Linked DNA regions of Homo sapiens: region 2 is linked to region 1. The links are contacts of gene promoters, found by promoter capture Hi-C in human tissues and cell types (Jung and others, 2019). All regions are on one chromosome and are shown on one strand. Each heading gives the region's core, a stretch centred on a gene start or on the middle of the fragment in contact. The rest is flanking DNA. Distances are from core to core; before and after follow the strand shown. Region 1 holds the start of AGO2 (argonaute RISC catalytic component 2). Region 2 has its middle 300 kb from the start of KCNK9.

Region 1 (4,856 bases), core at 895-3,394:
CAGCGAGTGACAGAAACGAGCCTGTGGATCATGAGGGCCAAGGTACGCTGAAAAATGAAATCGACAAGACAGCATCCCGGGGCAGTGCACACAGTACAGCAGTGAGCTGGGGTGGCTTCCTGAAGCCCCGCTGTCAATGACAAGTATGCGGGCAGGTGCTGGTCCAGTCCAGCCCTAACAGAGACTTCTTACTGTGGGTCTGGGTTATAGGGCTTGAAAGGGACTGCCCTGAGGAAGGCACCCAGAGAACCAGCTCGGAAGTCGGACCGATTGTCCTGATACTCACTCACTGCTGTGTGACCTTGGTGAAGTTCTCAACCTCTGTGAGCCTCGGCTGTCTGTCTTCACAAACACCACCAACCTCAGCAAGTGGAGTGAATTAAGTAACACGCAAAACACAACACAGAAAGCTTGACCTTCCTTAAAGCCTCTTCACTTTTTCTGGGCCTCCAACTTTTAAAACCGATAACCTGAAAAAATGTAGTGCTGTCAGTCCCATAAGCTGGGTTCCTCTACAAAGAGGAGCTGGAAGGTCCCAACTCACAAGGGGATGCCCGGTCCTTTCCCAAGAGGGGGCCTGGCCACCCAAGGCCTCTAGAGGCCAGCACCTGCTCCAGGACTGCGGCCCCTCCCAGGTGGAGGGGGAAAATCATTCTTCAAACTGCTGATGGCCCTCAGGGGTTGAAAAGTTGGTCAGACTCCGCCTTGTTGAAGCTTTCTAAATGACATCAGAAAAAAGACGCGACATTCGCAAGGCACAGAGCCAACAGCTCCAGCAGTGGGGGCCACCATCAACGGACCAAGGTGGGCCAGGGGGCCTTCCGGACCCCACAATTTGGGGCCGGTCTGCAGCAACGAGGGCAGCATCGGGAATGCGAGCCTCCTCGCCCGGCCGGGTAAACATAAGCCCAGAGCCCGGCGGGGCCTGCGCCGCCTGCGGCCCGGCTGGGGCCCAGCGGACAAAGGGGAGCAGGCGGTGCCCCGTCCCAGCGGCCAGGCCGGCCGAGAGAGCCAGGAGCCACGTGCCCGGTGGGAGCACGCCAAAAGCAGGAGAACACCTGACCGTTTTTTTGGCCCACCAAGGAGACCGCCTTCTACTCTGCATTTAAAAAGAAAAACAACGCGTTACCGCTTTAAGTTTTTTAGAACTTTTCCAGAGAAAGGCCGACTAGCAACAAGGGGTGCTACAGGAATCCACCTCGCCTCACCTCTCCTAGGAAATTGTAAAAGGAATTAGCACTTGAATGGGGAGGCCGGCGTGTCTGGAATGAGAACGAGCCGCGCACGCAGTTTGAGGGTTCCGGGGAGCCGCGTCCTCCCCTTTCCAGGCGACAGCCCTAACTACAGGAATTGGCCAAAATTCAGCATTTCCAGACTTTCCTTGGGAAAAGGGGCCGAAGAAGTGCCGGCAACAAGAAGGGCCACAACGGAGCGCGCCACAGACTCACCGCGGCTGGGGTCGGGACCGGCGCAGCCCCCTCCCCTCCCGCCCGTGCGCGCCCCGAGCCGGGCGCCCCGACCCGGCCTCCACCCGCTCAGGCGCTCAGGGTCAGGCCGGGCCGGGCTGCGGCGCCCCCATCCCCGCCCGGGCAGCGAGGCCGGGCCAAGCGGGGCGCTCCGGGCCTCGGGCCTACACGCGGCGGCCGCCTCGGCCCCGGCCCCAGCCCGCGGGCCCCGGGCGGGGGATGCGAGGACGCTGGGACGCGGGCCCGAGGCGCGGGAGGGGCCCAGGCCGCGCGGGGCGCCCCGACGACTCGCGGGGGCCGAGGAGGCCGGGGCTGCGCGTCCAACGCGGGGCCGAGAAAACGGCCGGCTCGGCCCCGCCGCCGCCGCTCCTCGAGCCCCCAAGCGCGGCCCCGGCTCGCCCGCCCCCGGCCCCCGCCGCCCCGACCCCGCGGCCCCCCGATCCCCGGCCCCTGCCGCCCGCGCCGGGCCCGCCAACCACGGGCAGGAGCGCGCGAACGGCCGGGCGGGCGCCCCGAGCGCCAGGACTCACCGGGGCCGGCTCCCGAGTACATGGTGGCGCCGCCGAGGGGCTCCGGGGCCGAGGGGCGGCCGCGCGCGCGCCACGGGCCCCGACGCCGCGAGCCGCGAGGGAGCCGCCGGCCGCACGATCCGCCCCGGCGCGGCCGCCTCGCCAAACAGGTTTACCCGACGCGGCCGGGGCGGCGGGCGGAGGCGGCGGCGGGAGCGGGAGCGGGAGGGGCGGGGGAGGAAGGAGGAGGGAGGGGGAGGGGAGGCGAGGCCGGCGGCGGGAGCGCGCTCGCGGGGGGAGCGGGGCTGGGCGCGCGGGCGGGGTCCGCGGCGGCGGCGGCGGCGGCGCCGGGTCTGGCGGGGCCTGGGGCGGGGACCCGGGGAGGGGCCCGGAGACCTCGCCGGGCGGTGGGAACCGCGGGCGGGAGCGGGGACGAGGGCCGAGGGCGGCGCGGCCCGTGTGGCGCGGGGGCGGGCGCGGCCCCGGGGACCCTTCACTGCCACCCAGAGAAGCCGCGTCTTCCCGACGGGGAGGAGCCGGGCCCCCCGGCTGTGCCGCCGGAGCCGGAGGGGAGGCCACGCGCCCCCGCTTTCCCCGCCGCCCCCCGGTGGGGGGCGCAGAACCCTCCCACCCTCAGCCCCTCGGCCCCCAGCCTGGCTCTTTAAGTTACTACAGAAACACGGAGGTCGGGAAGCTCCCTCCCAGCCCGGAGCTTGAACTTGAACGCGGCCGGCCGCTCGCGCAGGACCACACCGCCACCTCCCGGCGCGGCCCCAGAACCCAGATAATCCGTTTAAAGCACTGAGAAAATCTAAGAAGTTTTTAGTAAACTGTAGCTGGTATCAGGGATCAGATCAGCGGACACGCCCATTCCAGCAGTCAGGGGCCTGCTCGGACCGTCGTGCACCTCCGAGCGTTTCTGTCCGGTCCCTCTGGGTCCGTCTGGTTTTCGGAGGCTTTCCTGGAAAAGCCAGCCTGTGGCTACCTCCTTTCTCCCCTAAGTGATGGAGGATTAGAAGGCAGAGGTTGACCCACAATCTAAAGTGCCTGGTCGCCTTTTCCCAGATTTCCCGGAGCATTCCTTCACCCCGTGGCATCGGCTGTCTGCATATGGGTGCAAGGCCCTGTTCCGGGCGGAGAATAAACAGGAGTTCTGACTGACAGGAGCTCCGCAGCCAGCAGGGTGGTCACTAGTTCTCTGCAGTCTCGGAGGACAGCCCTGAAGAAGGGCAGGAGAACCAGCACTTCCTCCGAAAACTCAAAAGGACATCAGTCTTCACCAAGTTGCCGATACAAAACGTGCTCCTGAAATGTGTAGTAATGAACACCAGGAAACCTGGGTAGGAGTGTGCATGGCATTCTTCATCACCGCTTGGACTGCATGGCACTGAATACCCACGGAGAGCAGGATGGAGAAACAGTGTGCTCATATTCACAGGATGGAATCTAGCCATTCACAAAAATTCCAAAACAGGCAAAATTAAACTGCATTCTTTAGGGAAGCATCATTAAGTAGTAAATAATTGACAGAAGGGCAAGAAGGTGCTTACTCTAAGTGTCAGAATGGTGGATACAGCTGGGGGTGAGAGGGCTGTGACCACAGCAGGGCCCCTGGGGGATTTGGGGGTGCCAGGCCTGTTCCTTCCTGCAATGGTGCCCTTTGGCAGCCATCCCTTAAACTGCACTTTTACTTTATATGCTTTTCTGTACCTTTACTGTAGTATTTCACGGAAATTTTTAAATAATCATGAATGTTACCACTTTCCTATTTATGAACCATGCAACCTCATCAATCTTCCCAGTTCGCAGATGCCCACCCTCTCTCTCTGCCCCTGTCTCCTTCACATATCCCCAAAACTCGTTTTGGCCCGAAATCCCTGAGGCCCAACTGCCCTGCTGTCAGCGACTGCACGCCTCAGCAAAGGCCCAGAAGGCTCTGTCATCACTGGCTGCCCTCAGCCCGCCTTCAGCTCCTTTGAGCGCTGTGTTGGGGAACTTTGTTGCAAGGATTTCGTTCCAGAAGGCAAGATAATGTCTCTGAGGGCTTCATTGTGTCACTTCTCTTTGGATGGCGGACACCGTGGCCCTCTGCTGGCGGAGGGGTGCCATTGCTGCCTGCCCCATCTCTATCCCCAGGGCCCATGCAGTCACTGGGTTCGCCCTCTGGGGCACGGGGTTCCCTCTGCTCTTTTCCTAGATAAGCCCATTCTCTGCAGGTCTCTACCCTCCACACCTGTGTTCAGGAATTCAGCCCGCTTCCTGCAGCCCCATCCCTACCCTCCTCCCAACCTGCTTTTCTTCTGGTGTCCCTCACTCAGCATGGCTAACAGATCCACCACCCAACGGAGCTGAGAACTGCAGTCCCCTCTGCCTGTTACCTCTCCTGCCATTAGTGAACCTGCTTAACTCATCTGACTGTGCGTCTCGGTGCTTGCTGTGACATGTCTCCAGCCCTTGCTGCTCTGTCCCCCAGACCCACGTCCCACACCCGGATGGTGACTCAGCCGACTCTGGGTCTTCTGGACCCAGTGCTTCTCCCTGATACAATTCCTTCCTCTGTGTTTTAGGATCCTGATGCTTTGATAAGACCGTGGGCTCTAATCACAGCCAGGGACATTTGCAGCAGCCTGGCCTGCAGCTCTGCACACTGGGTGCACTCAGTCTAAAGCACCAGCTCCCCATGAGAGAGAAAGAAGGGGTGAGGGGAAGTACAGAGAAAGCTCCTGAGGCCACAGGGCTGACAAAGCCCTCGGCTTTGGGGGCACTTTGTTTCTTCAAGACTAAAATGCAGGCAATGGAATAAATCATTTGTTCCTAAAACATGTTCTGCACATGATTAAAGCAGCTTTGGGAAGTCAAGTAAATTGGGAAGCACTGGATC
Region 2 (4,448 bases), core at 1,559-4,058, 1.2 Mb before region 1:
TCGTGCCATAATGGCAGAGTTGAGGAATTGCCGTGGAGACCGTATGGCCCACAAATCCTACAATATTTCCTATTTGGCTTTTTGCATAAAATGTTTGCTGACCTCTTCTCTAAGGCAGTAGTTTTCAACCTTGGCAATAGAATCACCTTCACCTGGGGAAACATTTAAGCTTCCCATGACTAGAATGGACCCAGACAATTAAATCAGAATCTTGGTAGCTGGGACCCAGGCATCAACCCTGGACATAGCATGTTTGAGATCTCAGATTAATACAGCATGCGGTCAAGCGTGAGAATTGGGAAACTGAATATATGAATGGACAGTGGCCAGACCCCACACAACAGAACTCTGACTGGCAACCTCTGCAGCAACCCCCCTGGGAAGCCAAGCCACAACCTCTGAAGCAACCATCCCTAAACTGTCAGGACCACCAGATCCTCTAATTTTTGCCCCCATTTCCAACTCAGGACTGACCAGACAAAGCCAAATATGGTCCCCAAACCAATCACACAGGATGCCCCGCTCCTGCTCAGTGGCCTCCTTCTCCCTCACACCCACAGCCTCCAGCAGGAGCACACCTGCAGCCTTCTCCTTTTCCCACGACCAAGGGTTCCCACTCCCCTGCTTGCCAAATGCAAGTGATAGTGGCCGCCTCTCTCACTCTCGCAAGCTTTGGATGTGCGGCCTCTGCTTGCTCTCCTCTGGGTGGTCTTCATGTGTTTCTACAGCGCTGCTGTTCCAAGGGTATCCCTTAGGCCTCCAGTGCAGGGACCATGCATGCTGGAGAAGTCCTTGCTTCTAGAGAGTGAAGAGTCTCCAGTATCCAGATCAAGGAAGGCTGGGACCACTGCTGAGGGACGAACTCAGAAGGCAAGTTTAAGACTTAAAGAGAAGGTGCAAGGTGTCCTTCCCCTATTGTCTGGCCCAGAATTTCAGAGTGTCAGGAAACAAGCTCAAGATTATTCCTTCAAGGCCAAGTGCAGTCGCTCACGCCTGTAATCCCAGCACAGCACTTTGGGAGGCCGAGGCAGGTGGATCACTTGAGGTCAGGAGTTCAAGACCAGTCTGGCCAACATAGTGAAACCCCATCTCTACTAAAAATAATAAAAAAAAAAATAACCAAGAATTGTGGCATGTGCCTGTGGTCCTTGCTACTCAGGAGGCTGAGGCATGAGAATTGTTTGAACCTGGAAGGCAGAGGTTACAGTGCAGTGAGCCAAGATAACGCCACTGCAACTCCAGCCTGGGTGTCAGAGCAAGACTCTGTCTCAAAAAAAACAAATGAATATTTCTTCTACTGGGGTCAGGGAGGACTAATGACGTGGGCCAGCACTGTGAAGAAAGCCCACCATGTTCTGCATCTTTATCCCAGTGCAGAAGCAGAGTGATGTGGGCAGAAGAGAGAGCAGCAACTCCAGGTTGGGCATCCCTCACAGGAGGGTCAGCACCTCCAGGTTGGGCATTCCGCACAGGAGGATCAGTTACACTGTCAGGTGGGGGAAGGGCTGGTCAGCTGGGACCTCAGGGAGGGGTGGAGACATCATCTCGGGATGGAAAATGAGACCAGGCACAGATCACCGAGCAGTGGGAGGCAGCCCGGCATTCCTTTGCCAACTTCTTTTTCCAAGGGGATGATGATACTCTACATACTGAAGTCATTTTCTCAGAATTTAATCTGGACCACAGAGTCTCCCGGAAGTGACTTGGTCAGTGTCCAGGGAGCCGGGGAGAAATGGAACGGGAAGATGTTTAAAAAGTAGCAGCCAGGTGTTTGCAGGAACAGGACCCAGGAGCAACAGAGCAGGTGCAGAACTCTGGCTGCAGGCATGTATTTGTCTCACCTCCTGTCCCTTAGCTTTCCCCAGGCCCACACCCTGGAGAGTTCATAGCCCCCCTCCACCCCAACCATTCGGTGCGTTTTGATCTCAACTCCCTGGAGAGAGACTCACTGTGGCTATAGTGGAGAAAAGGTGGAGAACTGACAGTGGAGAACTGACAGCTGGAGAACAGGCTGTGGCTATAGTGCCAAGACTCAGCAGATTTAGGAACTTCTTGAGTGACAATTGAACTTGCCCAGAGGGCATGTGCATGTTAACAAGGGTGGAAGACAATGCCCTGAGCCAAATAAAAGAATTGTAAGCAGTCTGAGTTCAGGTCTTATGGGATGAGAGGGTTTTGTTGTGCAGCACTTTACAATGCTCAGATCACACTGGTTATTCACCAACAGCTCTACCTGTCAAGAGGGCAGAAGGCCGGCGCTCACTGACTACTTGCTCTGTGGGTGGCACAGTGCTAAGCTTTTAAACATATATGATTAGCAAGATTTATCTTATTCAAACTTTACAACAGTCTTCTGAGGTAAATCTTAAGGAATCCCGATATTCAGATGAGAAGCAAGCATTGGTGGTTAAGTGACTTTCCTGGAGTCACCGGGCCATAGTGGAACTGGAATTGGGCCCCAGGTCTGGCTTCCAGGGCGCCCATGCTTTCTCCTTTCTAAGCTTGCTGCAAAACTTCCTGAACTCAGAGATGCAGACCAGAAATGCAAGTTCTGGAGGCTCCACCCCTGGGGCTCTGATTCCAGTCGGGGAGTGATGAGCACCAGCCAGTTGCCTCCAGGCGGCTGCTTAGGTCCAGCTCCTGGAAGCAGAAGCGGGCTCAGGTGGAAACAGGTGAGGAGACTTACCGGCGAGAGTTCTCAGGGCCATCACCTAGGGCGAGGATAGGACGCAGGTCAGGCTGTAAGTCACGGCAAGGCCTCAGTGGCGATTAATGGAAGCTCTGAAGCTGAGGCCACCCTTCAGAATTGGCCTGAGTTGAAAGGAGGGAGCCGGAGCTCTATACAGCTCCTTGAGCAACCACTGGGTTGAGTCGCCCTGGAAGGTGGGAGATAAGACGCACAGCCAGGTAGCTCTCTTCAGCGGAGGCGGTCCCAAAAGGGGCTAAGGGTGGAGAACTGTTAGCCACCCGCCTCCCGGCAGCTGGTGAAATACACCCTTGCATGCTGACCCTTTAATGATGAAGAGCCATTAATGCTGTGGATACACAGCGTTCACAACAGGAGCTCTGTATAAAATCCACAGAAACCATGTCTGAAGTCACGGGAGTCCCGCCGAACAACCGTTCACAGATCCACCTTCATGGTTCTCACCGGTGGTTTATGAGTGCCAGTAGGGGGCAGCAAAGAGCTTCTCAGGTGCTGTTACCCTACTGTACTGAGTTGCTGGAGCAAGAGCCTGGAGCAAGCACCACCTGGGAAGGAATTGCTGGGTGCCAGAAATGCAAGCGAGCCCAAGACTCCACCATCATTAGCAAAATCTGACAGTAAATAGGTAGGTAGGACGCAGATCACAAGGAACGTATGTCATGCAAAGAAGCTGGGTGTTACTCTAGAGCTGATGGGAAGCCCCTGAGTGGTTTTCAGCCTGGGAAGTGATGCATTTGATGTGTTTTAGGAAGCTTGTTCTGTCTTCAGGGAGGATGCAGGCAATGGGAATGCAGAGGGTGCCTTATTAGGGGGTGCCATTTCTTTGCAGCCATGCAACAAATTACTTAACCTCACTATCCAGGCCTGAAAAATTGCGAGGAGGTAACAGTGTCCACATTACAGAGCTCCCATGCCAATTAAGAGGAATAAGCTATATAAAATGCTTAGCACAATTCTTGATAAATAATGCCTACTCACTAAACCTTGTTAGAGTGATTATTTTCATTATATTTAAAGATTTAATCAAGAGACTGTGGTTACAGATTGGATGTAAGGAGAGGAGGATGGCAAGGCCATTCATGGACACCAGACATGAAAGCGGAGGTTTGCAGGGAGAGGAGGAACCCCAGGAGGCAGACAAGTCTGGGGCCCCCTGCCTGAGTGAGGATGGAGATATTGGGATCTGAGAATCAACAGTGTAGTGGAAGAAACTATACCAAGAGGGATGCATGAGGTCCCCCCAGGAAATAACCAGACAAAAGAGTAAGCATGCACTCCAAACAGCTTCAGAATGGAAAAGGACTGAAGAAGAAATTGCAGGCGATGCTGACATTTTAAGGGTGTTAAGGCATGAGAGGAGCAGCCCCTGGTGGAGAATATAAAGGAGGCCAGGCAGGTATAGGAACAACAGGGGAGAGCAACAACCCAGATGCCAGGAGAGCTGGGTTTTCAAGGAGAAAGTAGCTGGCAAAGAGTCCAGTGCAGCACAGATGTCAGGCAAGATGGGTCTGGGGAGGGGAAGGAATGGACAGCTTTTCTAGAACAACACTAGTGAGGGCAGAGGGCCAACCACAGTGAGCCGAGGAGCTCAAGCTGGAGAGGCAGCAGACAGTCATATGTGGGTGGTAAGGTGGGCAGCCTACAGGTTTTATTAAGTAGGCAGTGTAGAAGGACAAACATGGATAAATCGAGATATGTGATTGATAGATAGATGATAGATAGATGATGATAGATAGATAGA

The links. The method cuts DNA at HindIII sites, captures the fragments that hold promoters and counts their contacts. A contact is called where the count stands out against the background at its distance.
Region 2: a contact is called between a fragment that was not itself captured here and the fragment with the promoter of AGO2 in region 1, in 1 of the 25 tissues and cell types used here (lymphoblastoid cells).

What each region holds. Positions count from the first base shown.
Region 1 is chr8:140,633,489-140,638,344 of GRCh38, forward strand. AGO2 (argonaute RISC catalytic component 2) reads right to left here and starts at 2,145. Exons shown (of 19, transcript NM_012154.5): 1 at 1,997-2,145. The coding sequence starts at 2,018. It overlaps ERICD (E2F1-regulated inhibitor of cell death), which reads left to right and starts at 747. Exons shown (of 1, transcript NR_170171.1): 1 at 747-4,795. RefSeq lists enhancers at 1-383, 384-1,150 and silencers at 957-1,006, 1,490-1,659, 2,310-2,709. The HindIII fragment of the contact is 25,430 bases long and covers 563-4,856 here.
Region 2 is chr8:139,402,767-139,407,214 of GRCh38, forward strand. No RefSeq gene overlaps it. Among named protein-coding and RNA genes, the nearest start is that of KCNK9, 300 kb to the right of the region's middle. RefSeq lists an enhancer at 1,885-2,533 and a silencer at 3,153-3,262. The HindIII fragment of the contact is 4,778 bases long and covers 420-4,448 here.